6 separate regions of the Homo sapiens genome follow, and all the other regions are linked to region 1. Evidence: promoter capture Hi-C in human tissues and cell types (Jung and others, 2019). All regions are on one chromosome and are shown on one strand. The core of a region is centred on a gene start or on the middle of the fragment in contact, and the rest is flanking DNA. Distances in the headings are between cores, read along the strand shown. Region 1 holds the start of VPS18 (VPS18 core subunit of CORVET and HOPS complexes). Region 2 overlaps KNL1 (kinetochore scaffold 1). Region 3 holds the start of INO80 (INO80 complex ATPase subunit). Region 4 overlaps RAD51 (RAD51 recombinase). Region 5 overlaps INO80 (INO80 complex ATPase subunit). Region 6 overlaps RAD51 (RAD51 recombinase).

Evidence for each region. The method cuts DNA at HindIII sites, captures the fragments that hold promoters and counts their contacts. A contact is called where the count stands out against the background at its distance.
Region 2: a fragment that was not itself captured here is called in contact with the fragment with the promoter of VPS18 in region 1 in 1 of the 25 tissues and cell types used here (pancreas).
Region 3: a contact is called between the fragment with the promoter of INO80 here and the fragment with the promoter of VPS18 in region 1, in 2 of the 25 tissues and cell types used here (lymphoblastoid cells and mesenchymal stem cells).
Region 4: a fragment that was not itself captured here is called in contact with the fragment with the promoter of VPS18 in region 1 in 3 of the 25 tissues and cell types used here (adrenal gland, heart left ventricle and thymus).
Region 5: a contact is called between a fragment that was not itself captured here and the fragment with the promoter of VPS18 in region 1, in 1 of the 25 tissues and cell types used here (mesenchymal stem cells).
Region 6: a fragment that was not itself captured here is called in contact with the fragment with the promoter of VPS18 in region 1 in 1 of the 25 tissues and cell types used here (bladder).

The regions. Positions count from the first base shown.
Region 1 is chr15:40,891,649-40,896,415 of GRCh38, reverse strand. It overlaps VPS18 (VPS18 core subunit of CORVET and HOPS complexes), which reads right to left and starts at 1,966. Exons shown (of 5, transcript NM_020857.3): 1 at 1,557-1,966; 2 at 337-478. The coding sequence starts at 1,647. RefSeq lists an enhancer at 1,151-1,240 and silencers at 2,081-2,250, 4,372-4,421. The HindIII fragment of the contact is 19,251 bases long and covers 1-4,767 here.
Region 2 is chr15:40,643,205-40,647,971 of GRCh38, reverse strand. KNL1 (kinetochore scaffold 1) reads right to left here. Exons shown (of 26, transcript NM_144508.5): 15 at 2,885-2,975; 16 at 2,200-2,316; 17 at 898-985. Among named protein-coding and RNA genes, the nearest start is that of RAD51-AS1, 50 kb to the left of the region's middle. The HindIII fragment of the contact is 5,654 bases long and covers 1-4,767 here.
Region 3 is chr15:41,113,810-41,118,576 of GRCh38, reverse strand. INO80 (INO80 complex ATPase subunit) reads left to right here and starts at 2,297. Exons shown (of 36, transcript NM_017553.3): 1 at 2,297-2,604. RefSeq lists enhancers at 314-1,093, 1,810-1,909, 1,875-2,654, 2,720-2,799, 2,850-2,899 and 2 more and a silencer at 2,350-2,619. The HindIII fragment of the contact is 26,384 bases long and covers 1-4,767 here.
Region 4 is chr15:40,709,500-40,714,266 of GRCh38, reverse strand. The region is part of intron 5 of RAD51 (RAD51 recombinase); the gene reads right to left. Among named protein-coding and RNA genes, the nearest start is that of RAD51, 17 kb to the right of the region's middle. The HindIII fragment of the contact is 9,054 bases long and covers 1-4,767 here.
Region 5 is chr15:41,066,392-41,071,158 of GRCh38, reverse strand. It overlaps INO80 (INO80 complex ATPase subunit), which reads left to right. Exons shown (of 36, transcript NM_017553.3): 13 at 612-692; 14 at 1,494-1,589. Among named protein-coding and RNA genes, the nearest start is that of INO80, 48 kb to the left of the region's middle. The HindIII fragment of the contact is 5,849 bases long and covers 1-4,767 here.
Region 6 is chr15:40,729,287-40,734,053 of GRCh38, reverse strand. It overlaps RAD51 (RAD51 recombinase), which reads right to left. Exons shown (of 10, transcript NM_002875.5): 8 at 4,420-4,549; 9 at 4,080-4,201; 10 at 1,714-2,999. The coding sequence ends at 2,876. Among named protein-coding and RNA genes, the nearest start is that of RMDN3, 24 kb to the left of the region's middle. The HindIII fragment of the contact is 9,331 bases long and covers 1-4,767 here.

The sequences.
Region 1 (4,767 bases), core at 717-3,216:
GCACCATCACACCTAGCTAATTTTTAAAAATTTGTTTTGGTAGAGACGGGGGTCTCACTATATTGCCCAGGCTGGTCTCAAACTGCTGATTTCATGTGATCCTCTTGTCTTGGCCTCCCGAAGTGCTGAGATGATAGGTGTGAGCCACCATGCCCTGCCAGGCCAGATACTTAACCACTACCCTGTATTGGTTCTCTTTGGAAAGGGATAGGATATTTCCTGAAAACTCCAAATTCACTGCTTTACTTGCCTGGAATAGAAGAAAGGCCCAGTGAGTTAACAGTCCCCAAACACCTCTCTAGTCCCTACTCCTAAGCTCTGTGAGCTCTTGATTACCGGAGCAGTGTATCCTTGCCCAGGCTCATGCACAGCTGATTGCTGGAGACGACAAGACTGGTAATGCGCTCGGAAGGGGTGAAGTCAATGCGCTGCTTTGTGAAGATGGGCACTTCCTTCTCCAGCTGGGCATTCACATACCCTACAGGTAAGGAATGACAAGAAGATTAGCTGTGGAAGAGACAGGTGAAGGGCAAGGAGAGGCAGAAAAAACACCACAGTGCTCCTCGCCACTTTCCTGACATATTCCTATCCCCAGGACCTTGGTTAACAAATAGTTTGATATCAAGTCGTTTGCTGGTCACCTTTACAATAGAGGTCTGGAGCTCTTTCCACACTCTGACAGCAGTGAGGGGTTGATTCTTTGAACCCTTAAGATGCTGTCACAGCATGATATACCTGCTCCCACTGGTAATGGGGCTGCGTGGAGGTGGGACGGGACTGGTGGTCTGGGTATTCTCCCTTATCAGGTCTTTGGCCCAGCAATCCCAGCTTAACTGAAGTAGTATAGCCCCATTCTCTGCCCCCCTCCCTGCCCATGCGGTAATGAGCCTCAGTGTAGAGTTGGCAAGTGCTGGGATATTTTGAGCATTGAATGAAGGTAAAGACTAGAGTGAAAGCAGCTCCAATTCGTTAACTCCACTCACTGGAACAGTTCCCCAGGGCTCCCTATGCCCTCATTCTCCTGGAGACTCACTACTTTCTACAAAAACGTCCCCAAACTCCAGGCTGCACCCAGCTATAGCCAAGGCCAAAAAGATTTCATCTCCATTTTCCCCGTTCAGCGACAAAATTCCCTCTGGGACCCTCCCTTCTTCCTCTGCAATACTCCGCCTTCACCACTTTCTTTGTCCATTCCTTCCCTCCCACCTCCAGAAGGGGCCTGGTGGGAAAAGCATCAGCAGAAGCCGGGAGCCCATTCTAAGTTCTCCCAACAGCCCAACTGCGCCCTGTAGGTGAGTAATTCCTTATCTGGGCCCCAATTCCCTCTCAAAAGGACCCTAGCGGTAGAGCCTAGATCACGCGGCAGCTCCCGTTGCTCTTTCAAACTTCGACTATCCACCAGCTGGGGGCCAAGAGAGCCTGAGGAGAATCAGGGGCCTAGACCCGGAAGGCACGGCCCAGGGGATGACCCCGAGCTCTTGGAGCTGCCCTCCTCGCTGCTCCCACGCAAATGCTAGGAGAGCCGAAAGGGGCAGCGGCACCCTCCTCTTCCTTACCCGAGTGGGGGATGCCCACGCTAGGGCAGCCGGGCTGCAAGACGGCCGAGCGGGACAGCGAGTTCTCGTACTCATCCAGGATGGACGCCATGGTGCCCGGCCTCTGGGCTCTTTGTCCGGGGCCTGGGGATTACAAAAGGGCTACCCCCCCGGGGTCCCCGTCGCCCCAGAATGGAAGCTGTAACTCCCCAGCCTCTGACAGATCCTGGGAACCTGCAGCCGTCGCCTCCTCTTTAAAATCCTGAGGATCCTCTTGCTCTTGCCTTATGCAGCGAGATAATCGGGCAGCCCTCGTCCTTGAATCTGGCGCAGTCTTGCACCTTACTCCCCGCCCCCGCTACAAAAAAATCACAGGCTCCCTTCAGCCGGTGCCAGGTGATCCCAACCTCGCCCCGGCAGCTCAGCTGACTCCCGCCCCCGTGACGCGGGCCTAAAACGTAACTTCCGGGTTCTCAGAGCCCCGCGTACGCTGGCGCACAACGTCGCCGGGCCAGCCAGCAGAAGGCGAGACGAGGGCTGAGGGCTGGGCGCGTGGCGAGTGCTGCTGAACACAAGCCCCGCCCCCAGGATCCTGCTGCAGTTCCGAGCTTTGACACCAGGAGGCAATCCCGGCTTTCTCAGCCGGCCTTCCCCACCCGCCCCGCGCCGCCCAGTTTTGGCTTTCGTGCCCAAGCTCCGCTCCCTCGGGTGGTCTGTCCAGCCTCCCTGACCAGCTCCCGCTCCCGCCTCTCTAAACAGCCTCGGGGAACCTCCCGTTCCTCAATCCAATCGCTGTCTCTATCCCACCGTCACAGGGCACACGCAGACAACTCCTGGCCACTCTTCTCCCTTACCCAAAGGCCCCCCAGCTTCCAGGAGACCGCAGAGCTGGTGGCCAGGCTAGTGGGAAGCCCTGTGCCAGGAACCGCCCTGACCTGCCCCACAGTGGCTCCTTGGCTCAGGGTTGCTGGGCCGCTTCCATTCACTCATTCACCAAAATGTGGTTGAGCACTTACTCTGTGCCAGGCCTTGGGCTGGGCGCTGGGGTCACAGAGATGAGGACAGCCCCTCCCCGCCCTGGAAAAGGTCGTAAGCCAGCAGGGGCGCTGGACCCGTAAATAGACCATTCATACTAGAAAAGCAAGTGATGGATTATCCATCAGGCACTTACTCCACGAATGAGCGTCCACTCTGTGCCAAGCACTGTTCCAGGCTCTGGGGACGTGGCAGAGAACAAGACGGAAAATGTCTCTTGCCTGGTGGGGCGTACCCAGCGACGTGGCCACGGCACTGAGAGCGTGAAGGAGCAGGGAACAAATACCTGCCAAGCCTAGCAAGAACGAGGGACAAGTGGGAGCAAGCGTGAAGGCGGGGGCCGCCCAGCCTGAGGTGGAGAGGGGAGTCCTCAGCCAGGGACCTGCGAGGGCTGGGGCGCGACTGTGGTTGGGTTTTCCTCTCTCACCTGCTTAGGCGACCCAGATGGAGTCTGTTCCCTTCTGGGGCCCTTGGATTCTACCTTGCTAAAGTGGAAGGCTCTGGACTAGGGTCGCCACCGTCCTGGCTCTGCTGGGCGGCCCCCGCCTAACAACTAAGAGCATCCCTTTGCTCTCAGAAGTTTCCAGGTTTGCACCATACCTTATGTGGTTGGGTTACTCTTGCTCAACTTCCTGGCCACGTGCGGAGAACTGTGACTCTCACCAGCCCCACTGAGGGCTATCTGGGCTCTCTGGCTTGGAGGGGCACTAGTCCTGGGGCAGGTGACAAGTATGCTGTCCAGGCTCATTTCCCTTCGCACCAGGGTCCTGCTTCTCTTGACCAAGCCTGCAGCCTCAATGCAGCCTTCCCACCTGAGGTTGCCAGGTCCCAGGAGGGAAGTGCAGGAGCAGGACAATAGGCAGGAGGCTTCCTCTAAGAAAAGTGATCCCAGACAGGGAGCTGCCCTGCTCCATACATAACACTTCACCCCCAGGTCACCTGCCATCTGCCCTCAGGTCTGGACTGTGCAGAGGGTTGTCCCTGCTGCACAGAGCCCATTAGCAGTTGGAGGTCAGCATAGGAGTGCTGCCTTAGGGACACAGAGTACTTCCAGCTACAGCCTCAGGGACCCCAGCACCCCATTGTTGGGCTCCATGGCTCTCCGGGATGTATGGGATAGGCCTGGGTGGACCCTGTTTGTGGCAGACTCAGTACAGTCTCCCTTATGCGTTGATTACCACAGTGCATTTCCACCTACTCATTCTTCAGTTCTTAGGCTGGACTTTGGATTCTTTGAGAGCCACAGAATCAAGTGTGGCAGTTGCAATGAGACAGGTAAGGGATGACTGCTAGGGCATCAAAAGAGAGGATTCCTGTATGAAAGCAGCTGAATTTGACCCAAGACTTGAAGTGCATGTATGATCTCCAAGGGCAAGCTGTATCTCTTATCCCTGCCCAGCCACTTGCTAGCTGTGACACTGCACAGTTGATGCTCTTAGCTTCAGTTTCCTCATCTACAGAGACAAATACCTACCTAGTAGGTCTGTGCTGAGAAGTAAATGAGGGATCCACGTGAAAGCTCACTGCTATAGTATAATGCCCAACATGGAGCATGTGCTTAATAAACTCTAAATGTGACTTTCATCTGACAGTCTCTCTCAAGTCCTCCTCCTTCCTGAAGCCTCTCTGGATCCCTCAGAACTCTTTTTAGAGATGGGATCTTGCTCTGTCACCCAGGCTGGAGTGCAGTGATGTGATCATAGCTCATCTAAACACCTGGGCTCAAACCATTCTCCTGTCTCAGCCTTCCCAGTAGCTGGGATTACAGGTGCGAGCCACTGCGCCCAGCTGGCTTTTCTTATTCTGGCCACTTGGGGGCCCCTAATGATGCAGTGTGGACATTTTGCTTTGATAGAAACTGCAGGAAATAACCCAGTGATTTCTGAGCATGAAGATACAGAGGTGCCTTAGGGAACTCACAGCTAGAGACATACGCACCAGCCTCTAGTCCTCAGAGTCATTGTAGCAGTTACCATGAGACAGGTAACAGGTGACTGCTAAGCCAATGAGAGAGAGGATCTGTGTAAGAAAGCAGTTGAATTTGACCTAAGACTTGAAGAGCATGTAGGACCTCTAAGGGCAAAAAGAGAAGGTATTATGCAGTCCTCAAGAAAACCAAGAGCAGGGCTGAGCACGGTGGCTCACACCTGTAATTCCAGCACTTTGGGAGGCTAAGGTGGGAGGATCACTTGAGTCC
Region 2 (4,767 bases), core at 876-3,375, 250 kb after region 1:
AAAGCACTAGGGGAGAGAATATAGAAAAGAACAGATGATAAAATCTAAATCCCCACAAGGGATCAGTTAGAGAAAGAGAGGCCAACAGAGAAGCTGGATTGAGCAGCCAGGAGAAAACAACTGGGTCAAGATAGTGCATTATCACAGAGATTAAGGGAGATGAACATTTCAGGAAGAAAAGAACAGTCATCAGTGTCAAATGCTGAAAGAGGTCAAAATGGCTAAGGACTGAGAAGAACAAAATTTGATGACTATGCAGAATTATGTGATCTTTGAGAAAGGAGTTTCAGGAGAGTAACTCTAAAAAGTTGGGATTATGAAAGACCAAACTGAAAGGATAGACGGTTTTCAAACTGAGATAAATTCATCTATTAAAAAACACAAAATTACAGTCTGGGTTATCTTGAGCAGCTCTTGATTGTATTATGGATGACTATAGTAAAGGAACTTTAATTTGCTCTAATTTATTTATTTATTTATTTTATTATTATTTTTTTTGAGATGGAGTCTCGCTCTGCCACCCAGGCTGGAGTGCAGTGGCGCAATCTTGGCTCACTGCAACCTGCACATCCTGGGTTCAAACTATTCTCCTGCCTCAGCCTCCCGAGTAGCTGGAGTACAGGCGCCCGTCACCACGCCCAGCTAATTTTAAAATTTTTAGTAGAGATGGGGTTTCACCATGTTGGCCAGGCTGGTCTCAAACTCCTGACCTCAGGTGATCCGCCCGGCTTGGCCTCCCAAAGTGCTGGGATTACAGGCGTGAGCCAATTTACTCTAATTTAATATCTCAAGTTGCTAATACAAGTCTTCAATATCGTGGTACCAACATTCTCTACTGTAGGAGAGCATTTAGATAAAATTAAATTTTCTTTTGGAAAAGTATTTAAAATACTTTACCTGTTTCCATCTCAGTGAGGCAGTTATCGATCTTCTTAAGTATTTTATCCATCTCATCTATCTTTATTTGAAGTTTCTCCCTCTCATTCTAAATACAAAAGATTATAGACTGTCAAGTTAAACCTCTAAAGAAAATATTATAAATGGTTCAAACTGCTCACATAATCGCTCTATCATGATCACAAACAGGCAAATCTTTTTTTTTTTTTTTTTTTTTTGAGGCGGAGTCTCATTCTGTTACCCAGGCTGGAGTGCAGTGGCGCCATCTGGGCTCATTGCAAGCTCCGCCTCCCGGGTTCATGCCATTCTCCTGCCTCAGCCTCCTGATTAGCTGGGACTACAGGTGCCTGCCACCATGCCTGGCTAATTTTTTGTATTTTTAGTAGAGATGGGGTTTCACCGTGTTAGCCAGGATGGTCTCGATCTCCCGACCTCGTGATCCGCCCGCCTTGGCCTCCCAAAGTGCTGGGATTACAGGCGTGAGCCACCGCACCCAGCCTACAAACAGGCAAATCTTAAAATGAAGGTCAAAGCTTTAGGTTGGAACTTAAAAAATAAAAGTAAATTTTATTAAAATAAGTTTTAGCCAAAAGAACTCTGGAAAATAAAATGTTTATTTTATAAATTTAATAAAATATTTTATTAAAAGAAAATGAAATAATTTAAAAAGCATATTGACATAAAACTAATTCTGGTACTTTATTTTAGCATTTCTATAGGTGTTCCATGGAATACAATATATTAATATTTATTACTTAAAAACATTTCTATGATAAACTAAACATAGGAAACAGTGGTCAAAAAGAATTACAGCATTTATGCTTAGACTTTAAAAAATTATGTTTCTCTGAAAGGGCATATTGCTTGCAACATTTCCCATACTTACTTGCCAATGGAAAGTTTTTTTATGCAGAGCCTTTTAAAAAAGCTAATCATTTTGGGAAATGCTACTTTAAACACATGTGCATACATATACAGCTTAGTATGGACTATGAAGAAGATAATACTATGGTATAGTCCTTAGCAATGGGAGACCAGAATCCTATGTATTTTATTTCAGTATGTATGATGGATAATAGTATTTGAGATGAGACATAGGCCCACATTAGTAATTATATTCCAGTATTACTCAAGATGTCAGGATTTGCCACTTTTGACAAATTGAACCTTACCTCTTAATTGTTAAGTTTTTGCCCAAGTCTTATTCACATGTCTTCTAAGGAAGATTCTTCATATTCTATAACCATTAGAAAGTAATTTTAATATCTCTCTCTTTCTATGATATTAACTGTCTCAAATTACCTGAGCTGACTGCACCAGCTTGCCATACAGAGCCACTTTTCCTTGGTGAGTGAAGACTTTAGTCATCTTGGTAAAACATGACTTTATTTTGTTAAGATAAATTCCAAAGGCCTTCAGCTGGAAGGGAAAGTTATAGAGAACACTGTACTAAAACAAACGAGTCAGAAGAGGTAAATGGTCTAGGAAGGCTAGGCTTTGCCTATCCTAAGGCAGGATATTTGTCATTTGCAAATTTAATTCCATGTAATTGTCTAAGACCAGAAAAAAGATTTCAGTTTTGATTCCTGCCTTTAATTCACTTATTCATATTATAAATTAGAAAATGACAGGCTCTTAGTTAATGAAACTTTTTAATATATTAGGGCACATATAAAATGGGTTGCTTGCTATTTAATCAATTAAAGTAAATCTTTTCTTCGTCTAAATCTAAGTGAAAGGCAAATAGCAAGGAGGGAACTCTAAATAAACTTCAACTATATTTCATATATTAAATTGATCATCTCAGGTTTGAAAAGATTATATATTAACAATTGTGTGTAATTAAATAAGACCTTGGTACCACATTACACTTAAAAAATAAGTTAAATAACTCATCACTATGACCAAGTAACAGTTACTCATTTCACAATAAACATCGTTCAGAATGTCTTCACTGATTCTCATTCAGAAAATGAGACAAAAGTACCTCTTTGTCAGAGCAGTGTCTCATTTTTTCCCACAGGTTCTTATTTATATCAACCAACAGCTTATCTTGGTTCGATGCAGAAAGCTTTAATCTAAAATACGGAAAAGTTAATTAGCACTGTAGGGAAAAGAAAGAGATCAGACTGTTACTGTGTCTATGTAGAAAGGAAAGACGTAAGAGACTCCATTTGGAAAAAGACCTGTACTTTGAACAACTGTTTTGCTGAGATGTTGTTAATTTGTAGCTTTGCCCCAACCACTTTGCCCCAGCCACTTTGACCCAACCTGAAGCTCACAAAAACATGTGTTGTATGAAATCAAAGTTTAAGGGATCTAGGGCTGTGCAGGACGTGCCTTGTTGACAAAATGTTTACAAGCAGTATACTTGGTAAAAGTCATCGCTATTCTCTAGTCTCAATAAACCAGGGGCACAATGCACTGCGGAAAGCCGCAGGGACCTCTGCCCTTGAAAGCGGGGTATTGTCCAAGGTTTCTCCCCATGTGATAGTCTGAAATATGGCCTCGTGGGATGAGAAAGACCTGACTGTCCCCCAGCCCGACACCCGTAAATGGTCTGTGCTGAGGTGGATTAGTAAAAGACGAAAGCCTCTTGCAGTTGAGATAGAGGAAGGCCACTGTCTCCTGCCTGCCCATGGGAACTGAATGTCTTTGTATAAAACTCGATTGTACATTTGTTCGATTCTGAGATAGGAGAAAAACCGCCCTATGGTGGGAGGCGAGACATGTTTGCAGCAATGCTGCCTTGTTATTCTTTACTCCACTGAGATGTTTGAGTGGAGAGAAACATAAATCTGGCTTAGGTGTACATCCAGTCACCATACCTTCTCTTAAACTTAACTATGACGTAGATTCTATTGCTTACATGTTTTTGTCCTTATTATCACCCTGCTCTCCTACTACATTCCTTCTTGCTGAAATAATGAAGATAATAATCAATAAAAACTGAGGGAACTCAGAGACCGGTGCCAGTGCAGGTCCTTGGTATGCTGAGAGCCGGTCCCCTGGGCCCACTGTTGTTTCTCTATACTTTGTCTCTGTGTCTTATTTCTTTTCTCAGTCTCTCGTCCCATCCGACTAGAAATACCCACAAGTGTGGAGGGGCAGGCCACCTCTTCAAGCGTAGGGTTCAGAAGCCAGCTTGAATGAACCAGCTCAGGTCTACAATCATGTTTAATTTAACTCTTCCTAGTTTTTTTCTACATAATAAGAGGGGAATTCATTCAAGAAAAGCCTGATTATTCACTTGAAGAATAGTAGTTCAAGAATGTCATACATCAAAAAAACTTCTATCACTAACAGAATTCTCATCTCAACGTACCAACTTGTTCCAATGTGAAACATTTCGCTTATAAAGAATCCTAAGGTCTGTCAATGATCGCTGCTATAAAGTTGTAGCTATTATTATTTTATTTTTTTGAGACGGAGTCTCACCCTGTTGCCAGGCTGCCAGGCTGGAGTGCAGTGGCGCAATCTTGGCTCACTGCAATCTCCACCTTCTGGGTTCAAGCAATTCTCTTGCCTTAGCCTCCCGAGTAGCTAGGACTACAGGCGCGTGCCACCACGCCCAGCTAATTTTTTTATGTATTATTTTAATAAAAGTTCCCGGCCAGGCGCGGTGGTTCACGCCTGTAATCCCAGGACTTTGGGAGGCTAAGGCAGGTGGATCACGGGGGTCAGGAGATCGAGACCATCCTGGCTAATACGGTGAAACCTCGTCTCTATTAAAAATAGAAAAAATTAGCCAGGCATGGTGGCGGGTGCCTGTAGTAGTAGAGGTTGAGGCAGGAGAATGGCGTCAACCCAGGAGGCAGAGTTCTCAGTAAGCCGAGATCGCGCCTGGGTGACAGAGTGAGGCTCTGTCTC
Region 3 (4,767 bases), core at 1,048-3,547, 220 kb before region 1:
ATTACAGGTGTATGCCACTGAGCCCAGCCTATTTTTTGAGTATTTTTGATTTGCTGTTGGTTGAATCCACGGATATTGAACCCGCAGATATAAGGGCCAATTATATATCATACTTTTGCCTTTAAGCATTTTTTTTTTTTAAAGACAGTCTTACTCTGTTGCCCAGGCTGGAGTGCAATGGCTAGATCTCCGCTCACGGCAACCTCCGCCTCCGGGGTTCAAGCGATTCCCCTGCCTCAGCCTCCTGAGTAGCTGGGGGGATTACAGGCGCGCGCCATCATGCCCAGCTAATTTTTGTATTTTTAGTAGAGACAGGGTTTCAAGGTTGGTCAGGCTGGTCTCAAACTCCTGACCTCGTGATCTGCCTGCCTAGGCCTCCCAAAGTACTGGGATTACAGGCGTGAGCCACCGTGCCTGGCCATGCATTCAAGCAAATTTAACTCTTGGTTTTTTTTCTTGAGGCAGAGTCTCGCTCTGTCCCAGGTTGGAGTACAGTGGCTCAGTCTCGGCTCACTGCAACCCCTGCCTCCCAGGTTCAAGAGATTCTCCTGCCTCAGACTCCCGAGTAGCTGGGATTACAGGTGCCCGCCACCACGCCCGGCTAATCTTTTTTTTTTTTTTTTTTTTTTTTTTTCAGTAGAGACGAGGTTTCACCATGTTGGCCAGGCTGGTCTCAAAATCCCGACCTCAAGTGATCCACCCGCCTCAGCCTCCCAAAGTGCCGGGATTACACGCGTGAGCTACCGCGCTTGGCTTGCAAATGTAACTTTTTTTTTTTCTTTTTGAGATGGATTTTTTTTTTTTTCTTTTTGATACGGAATTTCGCTCTTGCTGCCCAGGCTGGAGTGCAATGGTGCGATCTCGGTTCACTGTAACCTCCGCCTCCCAGGTTCAAGCGATTCTCCTGCCTCAGGCTCCCAAGTAGCTGGACTACAGGCACCCGCCACCACGCCCGGCTAATTTTTGTATTTTTAGTAGAGATGGGGTTTCACCATATTGGTCAGGCTGGTCTCGAGCTCCTGACCTCAGGTGATTCGACCACCTGACCTCCCAAAGTGCTGGGATTACAGGCGTGTGGCACTGCACCCTGACACAAATTTAACTTTTTAAAGGTCAGTTAACTCAGCACAAGAAGGCTACTTGATGACCTTAATAAAGTACTTTTTAGTTAAATGCTAAGGGCCAGGTTAAAATGGATTAAAGAATGAGACCCAAAGGAACTGAATTAACAGCATATTTAACTTTCAGTAAGTTCTAATTCTTATCTACACCTAGGCCTTACCCTAGGCAATTCTCACCACACATCCTGGTAGTTGGGTCGATTACATTTATTATGTTGTCTTTTTTGTAGAGACGGGGTCTCGCTATGTTGACCAGTCTAATGGACTGCTCTGAGACGTTTGGCCTGAGGTGATCCTTCCAGGCAGGAGGATCACTTCAGGCCAGGAGACTGGGAACCAGCCCAGTAGACTGGGCAACATAGCGAGACCCCAAGTTTAGTAAATGTGGGTGGCAGTGGACTCAAATTGTAGAATTGGCACAGGTAAAAGCAATTATTCGCTTTTCAGAGGCACACTGTGTGGATGTGAGAACAGGCTGGCATTTCCGATAACAGGTCTGCGTGTTCCCAAGTCCTTGTATCCCACAACCTTCACGTAGACATCTTATCTAACTATGCTGTCCTACCCAACCTATAGCGTTCTTGCTCCCAGAGTCTAAATGGGAGCCCCAAACTAATTACTGTATAGTAGTCGAACTACACACCAGGCACTTCCCCGACAATCTACAACCCCATCCAAAGGGGTCAGAAACTAGTAACAAAATACCAGCTGCGAGCCTCTCCTTCCCCTAAAGAGATCTTATCAACTTGGCTGCACCTTCCCACCTCTAGCCTGCGGGAACAAATATCCCAGGATCCCGGGCGGTTTCGATTGACGTTACTTCCGGGAAAAGTAACCTTGCATCGGCGGTTGCGGGCCTGGAAAGCTCTCGCGACATTTTCTCCTGCGAGATCTGCTTGCTCACTGTAGCGATGACATCCTCCTCCTCCTCCCCGCCGCCTTTCGGCAATCTTCGCCAGTCCCAGTCCCGACTAATCTGTACTCAGATGGCATGGATCAGGGTCTCCCCTCGAACCCCGGTTCGCACGGGGCGTCAGGTGGCAGCGGCGGGGTGCGAGCTGCGCGAGGCCGACGGCAGCGGCACTACGGGTGGCCACGGGCAGGCGACGAGCAGTGAGTGTGGGCGGGGTGGGGGTAAGCCACCCGTGTAGCGGCTCGATTGTTCTGGCCTGGCTATGGCGCCTCTCCTCCCCCCCGCCATGGCTCCCCGTGTCCCTGCTCCGCTCCTCTCAGTGAGTGAAAGTGGCCGCCGCCGCCGCCGGCCCAGCGCCCGCAGCCGCCTCAGCGCCGCCGCCATCTTGGGGTCCCAGGAGCCGCGGAGGGAGCGAGCTAGGAGCGTCCACGCCCAACGCAGTCACCGTCCCACGGCCTCAGAGAGCGAACCGCGGCTCCACCGTCGGCGGGGCGACCCCCCCCTCCGGACCCCGCCCGCACCCCGCCCCCCCTCCGCCGCCGTCGCGGCGGCGGGGCCAGGCGGCCCGAGGTGAGGCAACTAGACGTGGGCGGGCGAACGGAGTGGGGGTTGTGTAGGTCTTGTTGCGCCCCTCTCTGCGGGCGACAACTGGGCCGCGTCTTAAAGGGGCCGTCGCCCCCGGCCCTTGGATTTGTTGGGGTTAGTATGGAGGATGGGTGTGGACACTCCCCGCAGGGTTGGGACCTCAGGGACTAGGGCCTTGTCCTTCCCGTTTCATATCTCTGGAGACCCGGGGTCATGCGGTGACCTCAGCCACCTGAGGAAGCCCGTGGGGCGCCCACACGTGGGGAGTGTGTTAGACCAGGTGCACGTGGGACCCGGTGGGGCGGTGTCGGGCTAACACGTGTGTAGGTTTGGGGGTGGGCAGGGGCAGGGCGGAGGCTGGAAGGCCTTGAGTGGGAACCCCGTGAAGGTTGTGTATCTGTCATTTTAAACAAATGAGATCTAAGGGCTTGTTAGTGTGTCATTTTGTAAGGGGCAAGTTGAGATACGGTTGAATGGTGCACGCTGCTGGCTGGTGTTGGGTGGGGGCAGGCTGACACCTGCATAGACTTGGGAGTGTCTAGATGACACCTCTTCTGGTTTTTTAGGTTTTTACATAGCGACTAGGAAAGTGTCATCCTATTTTGACATTCCTTCTTGAGCTCGCTAATGGAAAGTACTACTTCCGTAATCTCCGAGGCTAGAAGCCCCCTACAGTTTAGGAATGACAGAACCTAGGCAGCCACTTACTATTCTAGTTAACAGCCAACTGTGCCTGGAATTCTTTGATTCACACACTGTCTCTAGTTTGATGTACTTGTTAGAAATGGGGGAAGGAATTTGGAGGTTGACCTGGCTAACGTCACAGGTTACTTTTCCAGTCAGTGACTTTCATTATTTCCTCCACAACAAAATTATTGTGGCTTTTCAGTGGCAACTTAAATTAAATAATAGCTTTATTGAAATATGATTCAAATACCAAAAAATTCCGCTTTCTAAAGCGTATAATTAAGTAATTTTCTGAAACTATATTTATTAAATTCTGTAGCCATCAACCACTATTTAATTCATCACCCTAAAAGAGAATCTCTAGAAGCCATTTAGCAGTCACTCCCCATTCCCCCTCCCTCCAGTCTTAGGTAACTATTAATATATTTTTTGCCTAAATTTACCTAAAAAAGAAACATATGTATCTTTCTTTGCCTAGTTTGTTTCACTTAACATGGTGTTTTCAAGGTTCATCCGTGTTGTAGCAGGTATCAGTACTTAATTCCTTTTTTTTTTTTTTTTTGAGACTGAGTCTCGCTCTGTCGTCCAGGCTGGAGTGCAGTGGCGGGGTCCCGACTCACTGCGACCTCCGCCTCCCAGGTTCAAGCACTTCTCGTGCCTCAGCCTCCCCAGTAGCTGGGATTACAGGCGGCTGCCACCACACCCGGCTAATTTTTGTATTTTTAGTAGAAACGGGGTTTCACCATGTTGGCTAGGCCGGTCTCGAACTCCTGACCTCAAGTGATCCGCCTGCCTTGGCCTCCCAGAGTGCTGGGATTATAGGCATGAGCCACCGCACATGGCCTCATTTGCTTTTAATGCCAAATAATATTCTGTTCTAGTTGCATTTTATGTTTGAAATTTCCAAGCTCCTCCTCCTATAAAACAATTTGAGATCATTATGTGTGGTAAAAGTTGCATACCTTCTAGACTTTAAAATGAATGTTTTTTTTTTTTTGTTTTTTGAGACGGAGTCTGGCTCTGTCGCCCAGGCTGGAGTATAGTGGCGTGATCTCGGCTCACTGCAGCTTCCGCCTCCCGGGTTCAAGCAATTCTCCTGCCTCAGCCTCCTGAGTAGCTGGTATTACAGGCGCCCGCCACCACACCCAGCTAATTTTTGTATTTTTAGTAGAGACGGGGTTTCACCATGTTGGTCAGGCTGGTCTCGAGCCCCTGACCTCGTGATCCACCTACCTTGGCCTCCCAAAGTGCTGAGATTACAGGCGTGAGCCACCGTGCCCGGCTGAATTTTGTTTTTAAGGGATTGAATTCCATCATTTTAGCTTACTGTGTTCTTTTCCTCTACGTTTTATTTCAGTAGAAACCAAATCAATTTTTGAAAGTCTGTAAATTGTGATAGGAAATAATTGTAGTGAGCACAAATGTGATTAGAAAAGTTTATGACTAATAAAAACATTTTGA
Region 4 (4,767 bases), core at 585-3,084, 180 kb after region 1:
GGAGCTCACGCAATAGCTATAGCTTCTATAACTTACTCTTCCTCTTCTCAATGTTTCCTCCCTTATTATCATAAAAGGTCTCCTAAGCATCCTCCTCCACCCCTCCCCCTCAGCTCTTTCTTCCTAATGATTATGAGGATCTGGGTGCAGAGGCATTCACCTGTAATCCCAGCTATGTGGGAGGCTGAGGTTGGAGGATTGCTTGCGCTCAGGAGTTCAAGAACAGCCGGTGCAACATAGTGAGACCCAATCTCAAAAAAAAAAAAAAAAAAGAATTTATTTCTGAGGAGAGTTAACAATGGATTAGGTCTACTCGATACTGACATGCTAGCTTGGCTGTCTCATAAGACATATGGCAGCCAGCCAGGCACGGTGGCTCACACCTGTAATCCCAGCATTTTGAGAGACCAAGGTGGGCGGATCACAAGGTCAGGAGATCGAGACCATCCTGGCTAATACGGTGAAAACCTGTCTCTACTAAAAATACAAAAAATTAGCCAGGCGTGGTGGCGGGCGCCTGTAGTCCCAGCTACTCGGGAGGCTGAGGCAGGAAAATGGCGTGAACCCAGGAGGCGGAGCTTGCAGTGAGCAGAGATGGCACCACTGCACTCCAGCCCAGGCGACAGAATGAGACTCCGCCTCAAAAAAAAAAAAAAAAATTGTAACATTTTGGTCTGCAAAGAAAATATCAGTGGAGCAATAAACAATTAAAATGACAACAAAAAGCCGGGCATGGTGGCTCACACCTGTAATCCCAGCACTTTGGGAGGCTGAGGCGGGTGGATCACCTGAGGTCAGGAGTTCAAGACCAGCCTGGCCAACACAGCAAGACCTTGTCTCTACTAAAAATACAAAAAATTAGCTGTGTTGGGTGGCAGGCACCTGTAATCCCAGTTTGGGAGGCTGAGGCTGGAGAACTGCTTGAACCCAGGAGATGGAGGTTGCAGTGAGCCAAGATTGCGCCACTGCACTCCTGCCTAGGCGACAGAGACTCCGTCTCAAATAAAAAAAAAAAAAAAAAGGAAAATAAGAAAAATGGGAGGCTATCAAGCTAGGTTACTTGATGTTAAATTTAAATAAACTTGGGCCAGGCACGGTGGCTCACTCCTGTAATCCCAGCACTTTGGGAGGCCAAGGCGGGCAGATTAACTTGAGGTCAGGAGTTTGAGACCAGCCTGGCCAACATGGTGAAACCTCGTCTCTACTAAAAATACAAAAATTAGCTGGACGTGGTGGCCGTCATGCCTGTAATCCCAGCTATTCGGGAGGCTGAGGCAGGAGAATGGCTTGAACCTGGGAGGCAGAGGTTGCAGCAAGCCAAGATCACACCACTGCACTACAGCCTGGGCAACAGAGCAAGACTCTTTCTCAAAAAAAAAAAAAAAAAAAGAAAAGAAAAGAAAAAAAAACTCAACAGAGTTGAGTCCCGAGGATAGAAAAACACTAGGAAGCCTCTTCTGTAACACTGATATAAGGCAGATTTTGTTTCAGTTGTTTTGATCTCCAACAGTAAGTTGTGCCCATGGCAGAAGTGGGTATAATCTATCTAGATTAAAATAATGCCATGTTTTTCAAAATAACTAAAATTATAATAAAGCTTCAAAAGATTATAACAGAAGAGTTGGTCCATGGGCATGGGCCAGGTTCAAGGATACTTTGTGGACTGGCCACTTATGCAGCACATCCTTAAAGCCAGAGAACATTAAGACTCACTTAGACAAGGAAAAACGGCTCCCCATTACACTGCCTGAAGTTGCAGAAAAGATGAAAGTTTGTTAGCTTTCTCTTCTATATCCTACTCCCTTCCTTTCTCATGGATCTTTCGTTTCCAGATTCCATTTTTACTTCTCTGTGTGACTTAGTTCCACATCTCTCAATACAGCTAGAAATTTTCACTCGGGGTTTGTCACCTCAAACCTGTCATCTCTAAACCTGTACTCATGTTTCCAACAAAACTGTCTTCCCCTCTCAAACACTTTTTAGGTTTACTAAGTTACTGTAATACATTGTTGGGCTGAGGTGTATTTTTTATTGTCAGTCATCAAGCGCTGCCCTTTACAACATCTTTTCCCTACTTCTCTTTATTGTCACTATCTTAGTTTCCTGACCAGCTAATGCTTACTCTTCATAAAATCAAGTTTAAACTTCTTAACCTTCTGAAATAGGATCTTAATTTTTTTTTTTTTTTTGAGATGGAGACAAAATCTTGCTCTGTTGCCCAGGCTGGAGAGCAGTGGTACAATCTTGGCTCATGGCAACCTTGGCCTCCTGGGCTCAAGCGATTCTCCCGCCTCCACCTCCCAAGTAGCTGCCACTACAGGCACAGCCCACGTCTGGCTAATTTTTATATTATTTGTAGAGATAGGGTCTTGCCATGTTGCCCAGGCTGGTCTCAAACTCCTGAGCTCAAGCGATCCACCCACCGTGGCCTCCCAAAGTGCTGGGATTACAGGTGTGAGCTATCATGCCCAGTTTGATGTATCTTTTTAAGGGTCATCTCCTACAACTTTTCTACACAAACTCTAAACCAGTTAAATGACCTTGCTTATTTATTGTCTTTTCCTTCTAACTTATGCCTTCCCATCCTCTGTTCATCCCATTCTATACAGTTAAATGCTTTTAATTTCCTTCCTTCCCAAATTTAGCATTCTTCAGAAGTCTGGTCCAAAATCTTTTCTCCATAAAGTATTCCATGATCACTCTAGGGTGAAATTACCCCTTTCTATTCCTTAAACAGCTAACCCATTTCCTCTGTGACATTCATTTTATATATCAGGCATGTTTTTGGACATCTATTATCTCCACTCATTCAAGCATTTATTGTTTACTGAGAGCCAAACACTGCCTTAGGCACTAGCAATACAGCAGAAAACATGCAGTGGCACGATCCCAGTCACTGGAGCCTCGACCTCTTGGGCTCAAGAGATTCTACCACCTCAGCCTCCTGAGTAGCTAGGACCACAGGTACACATCATCATGCTGGGCTAATATTTTTAATTGTCTGTTTTTGTTTGTTTGTTTTTAGAAATGGCATCTCAGAAACAGGGTCTCACTATGTTGCCCAGGCTGGTCTCAAATTCCTGGTCTCAAGCAATCCTCCCACTTTGGCTTCCCAAAGTACTGGGATTACAGGCATGAAACACCATGCTGGCCTCTTATGAAGTTTTAAGAACATCATCTCTGAAGTCTGGTTTGAGTCCAGTATTTGCTACTTAAATACAATGTATTGGGCAATTATTTAACCTACTGTGTCTATTTCCAAATCTTCCCACCAATAGGAGCATAAGTAAAGGAAAAAGAAACTGAAGGGGTCCAGGGAAGGTTTTTTCCTAATGGAGGAGACACTAGACATATTTGTATACTGATGAGGATAATCTCATAGAGAGGTACAAGAGAAAATGGAAGGAGTAGAGTCCTTGAGAAGGTGGCAGGAGATGGTAACCAAATCATATTGATAGAATGGGCCTTTGAGAAGAAAAGGGACACTTTCTCAATTGTAACCTGAGATAAGAAAAGATGGGCACAAATGTAGATTTGATGCAAAGAGCAGGTTAGGTTTTTGGCTAAGAATGAGAGTTGAAGAGGAGCATAAAGTTCTGATAACAGAAGACGAAGTATGAGATATGAGATGCCTGTCTAACTCAGTGGGAAAGTACACCTAAATGGAGAAAGTAGACTGCCAAGAAGTTTTGAATGTTAATCTAAAGTTTTGTCATCTTGAATTTTTTTCCTTTTTTCATTCTTTTTTTTTTTTTTTTTTTTTTTGAGACAGAGTCTCGCTTCTTTGACCAGGCTGGAATGCAATGGTGCGATCTCAGCTCCCTGCAACCTCTGCCCCCCGGGTTCAAGCGATTCTCCTGCCTCAGTCTCCCAAGTAACTGGGATTACAGGCACGTGCCAACACGCCCAGCTAATTTTTGTATTTTTAGTAGAGACAGGGTTTCACCATGTTGGCCAGGCTGGTCTTGAACTCCTGATCTTTTTTTTTTCTTCTTCTTTTTTTTTTTTTTTTTTTTTTTTTTTTTGAGACAGAGTCTCGCTCTGTCGCCCAGGCTGGAGTGCAGTGGCGCAATCTCGGCTCACTGCAAGCTGTGCCTCCCGGGTTCACGCCATTCTCCTGCCTCAGCCTCCCAAGTAGCTGGGACTACAGGCACCCGCCACCACGCCCAACTAATTTTTTGTATTTTTAGTAGAGATGGGGTTTCACTGTGTTAGCCAGGATGGTCTCAATCTCCTGACCTTGTGATCCGCCCACCTCGGCCTCCCAAAGTGCTGGGATTACAGGCGTGAGTCACCGCGCCCAGCCAAACTCTTGATCTCAAGTGATCCACCCGCCTCGGCCTCCCAAAGTACTGGGATTACAGGCGTGAGCCACCGTGCCTGGCCTGTCATCTTGAATTTAAAGTGAAGTCAGTCAGCTGTATGATACGATTTTTCTCCAGTATAATCAGCTATTTGGGTACAGACACTGAGAAGATAGATGAGTTTCATCTAAGGTTGGCATCTCTTCAAGTGGGTATGTAAACTGAGGCTATCTGCAAGAGAATTACTTTAATGATGAATCATAAAATCTAGACTAATGAAGAAGATGGAGGGCTGGGCGCAGTGGCTTACGCCTATAATTCCAGCACTTGGGAGGCCAAGGTGGGTGGATCACTTGAGATCAGGAGTTCAAGAGGAGCCTGGCCAACATGGTGAAACCCCCTCTCTACTAAAAACACAAAAATTAGCCGGGCATGCTGGTGGGCGCCTGTAATCCCAGGTACT
Region 5 (4,767 bases), core at 968-3,467, 170 kb before region 1:
CTTACTCTGTCACCCAGGCTGAAGTGGAGTGGTGCGTTTATGGCTCACTGTAGCCTTAAACTCCTGGGCTCAAGTGACCCTCCTGCCTCAGCCCCCAGAATAGCTGGGACTGCAGACACATGCCACCACGCCTGACTAATTTTTGTATTTTTTGTAGAAACGGGCTGTCTCCATGTTGCCCAGACTGGTCTCAAACTCCTGGGCTCATGCGATATGCCTGCCTCGGCCTCCCAAAGTGCCGGGACGGGCATGAGCCACTGCACCCAGCTGATGTCTTTTTGTTTTTTTGTAACCTGGAGATCCTACTGGAGAATATTTGTGTATTTCTTATGGTTTGTCTTATATGGACTTGGTAAATCTAATTGCTTTTGTGTCTGGGTTGTATTAGCTAACAGATTGGCCTTGCCCTGTCTCATGTATCATGGTTCATAGTTGTAGCTGTAGCATTGGCAAAAGCAATTACTATAGCAGTGGGTAAAAGTGCTGAGGCTGAGTATCTCTGGTCACTTCTCTTTAAACAAGCCTGTTATCTTGGTCGTTCTTTTTGGTAACAGGTTGAACTTTATTTGATGAAATGCATGAGGTGTTGACCATGTATTTTTTTTCCCCAGGGTATTAATGGCATTCTTGCTGATGAAATGGGCCTTGGTAAAACAGTACAGAGCATTGCCCTTCTGGCCCATCTGGCTGAGGTGGGTAGATGCAATCTTTCTATCTTCATTTCTCTAGAATTTAGGGTAATTTCTGTTGAAAATCAGCCACTTAAAAGCACTATGTTAAGCTGTGTAGCATTCCAAGATAGTGGGACTGGGTTCTTGCCTCAGAGCTTTATAAGGGGACAGTGTTTTATAACTTTTTGGTTTTTAAGAGGGCTAGGACAATTTTTGAGCATGTGATTTTGAGACACTCCTTTCCGCTCTGCATTAATTACCACCAGTGTAGTGGCAAGGGCCATATAGTTAGATCAGAACACCTTGCCTAACATTTCAGCTCTACTCTTATTACCAGTGTAAACTTGGGCAATTTAGCCTCTTTTTCAACTTAACTCTCTGAGGCTTAGTTTCCTCTTCCTCTTCCTCTTCTATGGAGACGTTATCTACTTTATAGGAATTTTATAAGAATTAAATTTTAAAAATGCGTAAAACTGAAAAAAAAGCAAAAGCTCTATACCTATTAAATAACTACAAGATTGTCGGATAACTAGTATAGTAGAAAACAATACATACAAGTCAGTGTGTCATGAATGCTTTGTGGATAAGACCTATAAGAGGTCAGAAGAGGGAATAGTTGCTTGCCATTTTTTTCTCAGGTGTGTCTTTATGTTCTTATTATTAACATAGGATATTACTATTGAATGTGCAGATTTGGGATTTACTCACTGTTTCTCTTGTTATTTGTTTCCTATTCTTAGATTGTTCTTGTCATTAATTATAATTTTGAATTAAATACCTTCCCTTTTCCTGTAGTTGGCTGACTGGGTTTTTCTGTTGCAGAGAGAGAACATTTGGGGACCTTTCTTAATAATTTCACCTGCGTCTACACTTAACAATTGGCACCAGGAGTTTACTAGATTTGTTCCTAAATTTAAGGTAAATATCAGTCCAACCAAAACATCTATTGCTCTTTAAAATAAACTTTTTGACTCTCCTTTTCTTGCCCTACTAATTACTCATAACAGTTTTAAATTTTGGCCGGACTTGGGGGCTCACACTTGTAATCTCAGCACTTTGGGAGGTTGAGGTGGGTGGATCACGAGGTCAGGAAGTCGAGATCATCCTGGCTAACATGGTGAAACCCCGTCTCTACTAAAAATACAAAAAAAAAATTAGCCGGGCATGGTGCCATGTGTCTGTAGTCCCAGCTGCTCAGGAGGCTGAGGCAGGAGAATCGCTTGAACGGGGCAGGGCCAGGGGGGTGAGGGGGCGAGGGGAGGTTGCAGTGAAGGGAGGTTGTAGCAAGCCGAGAATGTGCCGCTGCACTCCATCCAGGGCGACAGAGCAAGACTCCTTCCGTCACAAAAACAAAAATATACATTGTTCCAAAATAACTTGCATATAATCACTATAAAACTTACTGCTGGGAACAATGAGTGCATATTGCATTTAGCCTGATAAATGGATACTCGTGGTCAAACTGCCACGGTAGAAAACATCTACCTTATTTGGTTTAACATAGATTTTTGACAAATCATACCATCAGTACACATCCTATCATTTACGGCATTTCTCTTTTCATTTAAATCTATTGTAAATAATTCATTTCTTTTTTTTAATACATGTCTTGTTTTTGTTTTTGTTTTGAGATGGAGTCTCACTCTGTCGCCGAGGCTAGAGTGCAGTGGCACAATCTCGGCTCACTGCAACCTCCATCTCCCAGGTTCAAGCAATCCTCCTGCCTCAGCCTCCTGAGTAACTGGGATTACAGGTGTCTGCCACCATGCCCAGCTAATTGTTTTGTATTTTTAATAGAGAGAGGGTTTCACCATGTTGTCCAGGCTGGTCTCAAACTCTTGACCTCAGGTGATCCACATGCCTGGGCCTCCGAAAACGCAAGGATTACAGGCATGAGCCACCGCACACAGCTGTTGTTTTTTTTTTTAATCAGAGTTTCACTCTTGTTACCCAGGCTAGAGTGTAATGGTGCAAACTCTGCTCACCGCAACCTTTGCCTCCAGGGTTGAAGTGATTCTTCTGCCTCAGCCTCCCGAGTAGCTGGGATTACAGGCATGTGCCACCATGCCCGGCTAATTTTGTATTTTTAGTAGAGACGGGGTTTCTCTACTGACGATGTTGGTCAGGCTGGTCTCGAACTCCCGACCTCAGGTGATCCACCCATGTCAGCCTCCTGAAGTGCTGAGATTACAGGTGTGAGCCACTCCATCCAGCCCATTTTGCTTTTTTAGTAGAGGCAGGTCTCACTATGTTGCCCAGGCTGGTCTTGAACTCCTGGCCTCTAGTCATCCTTCTGCGTCAGCCTCCCAGAGTCCTGGGATTACAGGCACGAGCCACCAAACCCAGCCAGTTCATTTTCTTAATACTCTAAAGTCTGATCTCTAGTCTTAGTCCAGCTTATAATGTCTAAGGTAGATAATGTGAACATCGATTTAATTAATTCAGAGGAAAAGAATTCAGGTTGAAGTAGGGGGTGATCAGGGAAGTATTTGGCATCCATTGGGCAAGACATTGATTAGATTTAAACAGCTGCTTAGTTATGAAAAGTTGGAGGAATTTAAGAAAGAATGAATAGGATTTATTGTTTGCAATTTAAAAGAATTGAAAATGAGTTAAATATGTGTTCTGTCCCTAAAGGAATATGATAATGAAGTTGCACAGTTAAGATAGTATTTTGGAGATTATATATCAAAATATGTTGACATGATCTCTGTGATTTTGGGTCTCTGTAATAGTGATGGGTTTCCTGTAGTTGGAGCTTGGGATAGGGTAGAAATGTGAGGCAGGTATTTTTCTGGCTTATGCTTTGTATGGAATAGGAAATTGTCTGGGATTTCCCACTTTGAGGCAGCTTTATGGCTGTGGTCCCATTTTGTGGCTAAATTGTAGATGTAGAAACTGTATAAGGAGTGTTAGGATATATAGCTTTTAATTTGACTGACTCATTTTCATCTTGCTGAGATGATGATGAGATCATTCTAATGCAGTTTGTTGACTATTTTCTCTTAAATTGTTTGTCTTGTGGAATGGTGATCACCATCTTTTTCTGCTTTTTTTTTCATATGATGTTCAGTATATATTGAACAATGCAGATCTTGAAAAATAAAAGATCTTGGCCGGGCATGGTGGCTCATGCCTGTAATCTCAGCACTTTAGGAGGTGAGGCGGGTGGATCACAAGGTCAGGAGTTTAAGACCAGCCTGGCCAAGATGGTGAAACCCTGTCTCTACTAAAAATACAAAAATCAGCCAGGTGTTATGGCGGGCGCCTGTAATCCCAGCTACTCGGGAGGCTGAGGCAGGAAAATTGCTTGAACCCGGGGGGCAGAGTTTGCAGTGAGCCGAGATCATGCCACTGCACTCCAGCCTGGGCGACAGAGTGAGAATCCGTCTCAAAAAGAAAAAAGAAAAATAAAAGGTCTTAAAATTTTTTCACCAAACCACTTAAGTTTTCAGTAGCTCTTCCACTGCTGATAGATGGCAATGTGATATTACTAATGTCATTGATGCCTTTCCTTTGACTTTATAAGTATGCCTGAAACAGAGCTATCATTTGCATGTTGAACTTTCTTTCGATATCCTAATTTAGGATTATATACCCTGTGGGTGTTGCCACCTCTTTTGATTTTTTTTTTTTTTTTTGCTTTTTTTTTTTTTCTTAGAGACATTTTCTCCTTCTGTCTCCCAAGGTGGAGTGCTGAGACGTGATCATAGCTCACCGCAGCCCTGAACTCCACCTCAAGCCATTCTCCCACATCAGCCTCCCAAGTAGCTAGGACTACCGGCATGCAGCGCCACACCCTGCTAATTTTTTTTTTTTAATTTTATGGTGCCGTCTTGCTATGTTGCCAAGGCTGGTCTCTAACTCCTGGCCTCACACAATCATCCCACCTTGGCCTCTTAAAGTGCTGGGATTATAGGCACGAGCCACTGCAGTTGGCTTGATTTTTTTTTTCCTAGTGCCCCAATATATTTTTTATTGTGACAAAATACATAGAACATAGTATTTACCATTTTAACTATTTAAAAATGGGCTGGGCCTGGTGGGTCATGCCTGTAATCCCAGTACTTTGGGAGGCCAAGGTGGGAAGATCACT
Region 6 (4,767 bases), core at 1,870-4,369, 160 kb after region 1:
CAACCACGCCCGGCTAACTTTGTAATTTTAGTAGAGATGGGGTTTCTACATGTTGGTCAGGCTGGTCTCAAACTCCTGACCTCAGGTGATCTGCCCGCCTCGGCCTCCCAAAGTGCTGGGATTACAGGCGTGAGCCACCACGCCTGGCCAGTTTTGTATTTTTAGTAGAGATGGGGTTTCGCCATGTTGGCCATGCTGTTCTCAAACTCCTGACCTCAGGTGATCCGCCCACCTTGGCCCCCCAAAGTGCTGGGATTATAGGCATGAGCCACCATGCCTGGCCTCCTTATATGTATTAATATCTCATAACATCATGTTGTATACCTTAAATATACAATAAACTAATGTAACAAACAGGAAAACGTTTTGGGTGGGTCACTGAGCACTTTGGGTAAGATCTGGATTGGAAGTCCTAACTAGTGAAAAGAGGTAAAGGGGAAAAAAAGAGTCCCATAAACTCCATTTGGCATCTGGCTTCCAGGGACATTGACAATGCTACTTTTCAATCTGATTTTTTTTGAGACAGGGCCTTGCTTTCTCACCCATGCTGCAGTGCAGTGGTGTGATCAGGGCTCACTGCAGCTGCTACCTCCCGGCCTCAAGGGATCCTCCCACCTCAGCCACCGGAGTAGCTAGGGACTACAAGTGCGTCCCACCATGCCCAAATAATTTTTTAATTTCTAAATTTTTTGTACAGGGTTTCACCATGTTGCCCAGGCTGACCTCAAACTCCTGATTCAAGTGGTCTACCCACTTTGGCCTCCCTAAGCATTGGGATTACAGATGTGAGCCACCGCACCTGGCCCAGTCCCTGATTTATTTATTTATTTATTTATTTAGAGACGGAGTTTCGCTCTTGTTGCCCAGGCTGGAGTGCAATGGCGCAATCTCGGCTCACCGCACCCTCCGCCTCCCAGGTTCAAGCGATTCTCCTGCCTCAGCCTCTCCAGTAGCTGGGATTACAGGAATGCACCACCATGCCCAGCTAATTTTGTATTTTTAGTAAAGACGGGGTTTCTCCATGTTGAGGCTGGTCTCGAATTCCTGACCTCAGGTGATCCACCCACCTCGACCTCCCAAAGTACTCACACCTGTGATCCCAGAACTTTGGGAGGCCGAGGTGGGCGGATTACCTGAGGTCAGGAGTTCAAGATCAGCCTGGTCAAAATAGTGAAAAACTTCTCTACCGAAAATAAAAAAATTTGTCAGGCGTGGTGGCACGTGCCTGTAATCCCAGCTACTCGGGAGTCTGAGGCAGGAGAATTGCTTGAACCTGGGAGGTGAAGGTTGTAGTGAGTTGTGCTACTGCACTCCAGCCTGGGCAACAGAGTGAGAGACGGTCTCAAAAAAGACTAGAACGGCTTTTAAAACAAAGCATTGTAGAGCTATGTGTGGTGGTTCGTGCCTGTAATCCCAACACTTTGGGAGGCCAAGGCCGGCAGATCACTGAGATCAGGCGTTCGAGACCAGTCTGGCCAACATGGTGAAACCCCATCTCGATTAAAAATACAAAAATCAGCAGGGCGTGGTGGCGGGCGCCTGTTGTCTCAGCTACTTGGGAGGCTGAGGCTGGAGAATTGCTTGAACCCAGGAGGTGGAGGTTGTGGTGAGCCGAGATCACGCCATTGCACTCCAGCCTGGGCAACAAGAATGAAACTCCATCTCAAAAACAAAAAAAAAAAAAAAAGGAAAGGGGGGCCACAAGGCAACCCATGGTATGTCTTTCTTTTATTTTTCCATTAGCTTTTAAGCACAATCATCTGCAAGTGGGACTTTCCTTTCTGGTTTCAAATCTTGAAGCAACAGAAACTGATCACCCCTATACAGTGCCAAAAAGATTATGGAAACCCTGTCTTGAAATAGCTTGCACTGCAATAATTGCTATAAACAGCACATTCACTACTAATAACTACTTTATTAGAAGCCTCACAATCAAATCTGTTTACTTACCCTCTGAAATGTTTCTTGTTTGAAACATGGTCTCACTCTGTCACCCTGGCTGGAATGCAGCAGTGCAATCTCGACTCACTGCAACTTCCACCTTCCAGGCTTAAGTGATTCTCCCACCTCAGGCTATCGAGTAGCTGGGACTACAGGCACGTGTAACAGTGTGTCCAGATTAAGTTCTGCATTTTTTGTAGAGATGGGATTTCACCACCTTGGCCAAGCTGGACTTAAAACTCCTGGGCTCAAGCGATCCACCTGCCTCGGCCTCCCAAAGTGCTGGGAGTACAGGCGCAAGACACCACACTGGCCTGAAATGCTTTAAGACTCTAGGATTATCTTGAGTTAGTCTTAGCAATGAAAGACCAAGCAGGTAGATGGTGAAGGGCTAATGGCCTAGTAGGTTTGGCACAAGACTCCATAACCAAAACCTTACACAAGATCATTCAGACAGACAACTTAAAAACCTGCTTGAGAGTTTTACTGACAGAAAAAAAGAATCTGTGCAGACCCATTCCCTTTGCTACATAGCTGAGGCATTTTATTTTACCATTAATTTAGAAGTGAGAGAAGGGTCAGGTCTCTCCAGCTTTAGTTCTCTTGGAAACATAAGATTGTCCAGTAGACAGCTTGTTAAACCCAAGTCATTCCTAAGGCACCATGTCAAAGATACTTCATACCCCTCCTCCAAAACCAAAGAAAACACACAGAGATTAATACACTACAGAAGGAATAAACATTTTAGATCAGTTTGTGACTACTGACCTGTCTCCTGTTTATACCATCAGAAAAGCTGATATAATAGCTGTTTTCCCGGAAGCTTTATCCTGGCAGTCACAACAGGAAGAGGCCTGTAGAGAACCCCAGGGAGCAGTGCACTCTCATTAGGCTGCAGCACTTAAGGTTTTTAACAGAGGAAAAACCCAATGATTCAGTCTTTGGCATCTCCCACTCCATCTGCATTAATGGCGAACATAGCTTCAGCTTCAGGAAGACAGGGAGAGTCGTAGATTTTGCAGATTCTGGTTTCCCCTCTTCCTTTCCTCAGATACAATCTGACCCAAAGACACAGACCAAAGCACCAATTTATTATAATTAAACAATTCCGTTCCTGACTTTGTAACAGAGCTGAAAATTTTTTAGACATATATTCTTCCTAGAAGGACCCTGGGAATGTTTCTGTACTGTTTTCCTTAGTGCATTTCCAACCTGGCAGAATCCATTTTTGCCCTGGCCCCTCTCAGTGGATTGTCCATATTGAAACAAACATTAAAAAAAGAAAAATTTAGGCCGGGCATGGTGGCTCACGCCTGTAATCCCAGCACTTTGGGAGGCTGAGTTGGGCAGATCACGAGGTCAGGAGATCGAGACCATCCTGGCTAACACTGTGAAACCCCATCTCTACTAAAAATACAAAAAAATTAGCCAGGTGTGGTGGCGGGTGCCTGTAGTCCCAGCTATTCGGGAGGCTGAGGCAGGAGAATGGTGTGAACCCGGGAGGCGGAGCTTGCAGTGAGCCGAGATCGTGCCACTGCACTCCAGCCTGGGTGACACAGCGAGACTCCATCTCAAAAAAAAAAAAAAAAAAAGAAAAAAAATTTTTTCAAGACAGTGTCCTGCTCTTTTGCCAGGCTGGAGTGCAGTGATGTGTGATCATAGCTCAATACAGCCTCGAATTCCTATGCTCAACTGATCCTCCTGCCTCAGTCTCCTGGGTAGCTAAGACTACAGGCACACGCCACCACACCAGCTACTTTTTTTTGTAGAGACAGAGGCCTCACTTTGTTGCCCTTACTAGTGTCGAATTCCTGGCCTCAAACCATCCTATCACCTTGGCCTCCCAAAGTGTTGGGATTACCAGTGTGAGCCACTGTGCCCAGCCCAAACATTTTTTAAATAACAGGGGAGAGGCATATCAATTACTCATATTCATTCTTCCACACTTGTGGGTTTTTAATTCTTTTATGAACTAAAACATCTATACCAACGAGAGCATGTTAATTAGATTAGCAAGAGTTCCTAAGTGTCTATACAACAGTAGCTTTAACAGGGCTTAAATGAAAATGTTATATCTTCATGTCTTCACAGTTAATATGACATTCCGAAAAGAAGAACTGATCCCATCAACACCTTACCTGGTTGTTGATGCATGGGCGATGATATTTCCTCCAATAGGTTTTTTGGGATCAGCAGCAAACATCGCTGCTCCATCCACTTGAGCTACCACCTGATTAGTGATTACCACTGCTACACCAAACTGATGGGGAAAGGATAAATGTCAATTTTGTGGCCATAGACACTCCAAAAGCCTTAATGCTGCCACCACTTTCCCCCACAAAATAACGAATAACTAATGTCTCTCTTCTTCCTAAGAGCTTGATGATCTCAGGCACTGATGTCTTAGCCTCCTAGCAAGGCTCCTGGAATTCACAGCCACTGAAAGTAGGCATTCTCTGTCCCTATCCCACAACTTACCTCATCAGCGAGTCGCAGAAGCATCCGCAGAAACCTGGCCAAGTGCATCTGCCTGGCTGAAAGCTCACCTCGACCCGAGTAGTCTGTTCTGTAAAGGGCGGTGGCACTGTCTACAATAAGCAGTGCATACCTACAGGAAACAAGGATTCTCTGAAGCCTATTTCTAGCCTGTGTCAGATTCTGGTCCCTTCCTTACCACCCTAAAATCTCATATTCATAGTTTTTCCTGTATACAGATTTTTTTTTTTTTTTTTTTTTTTTTGAGATGGAGTCTAGCTCTGTCGCCCAGGCTGGAGTGCAGTGGGGCATTCTTGGCTCACTGCAAGCTCTGCCTCCCGGGTTCACTCC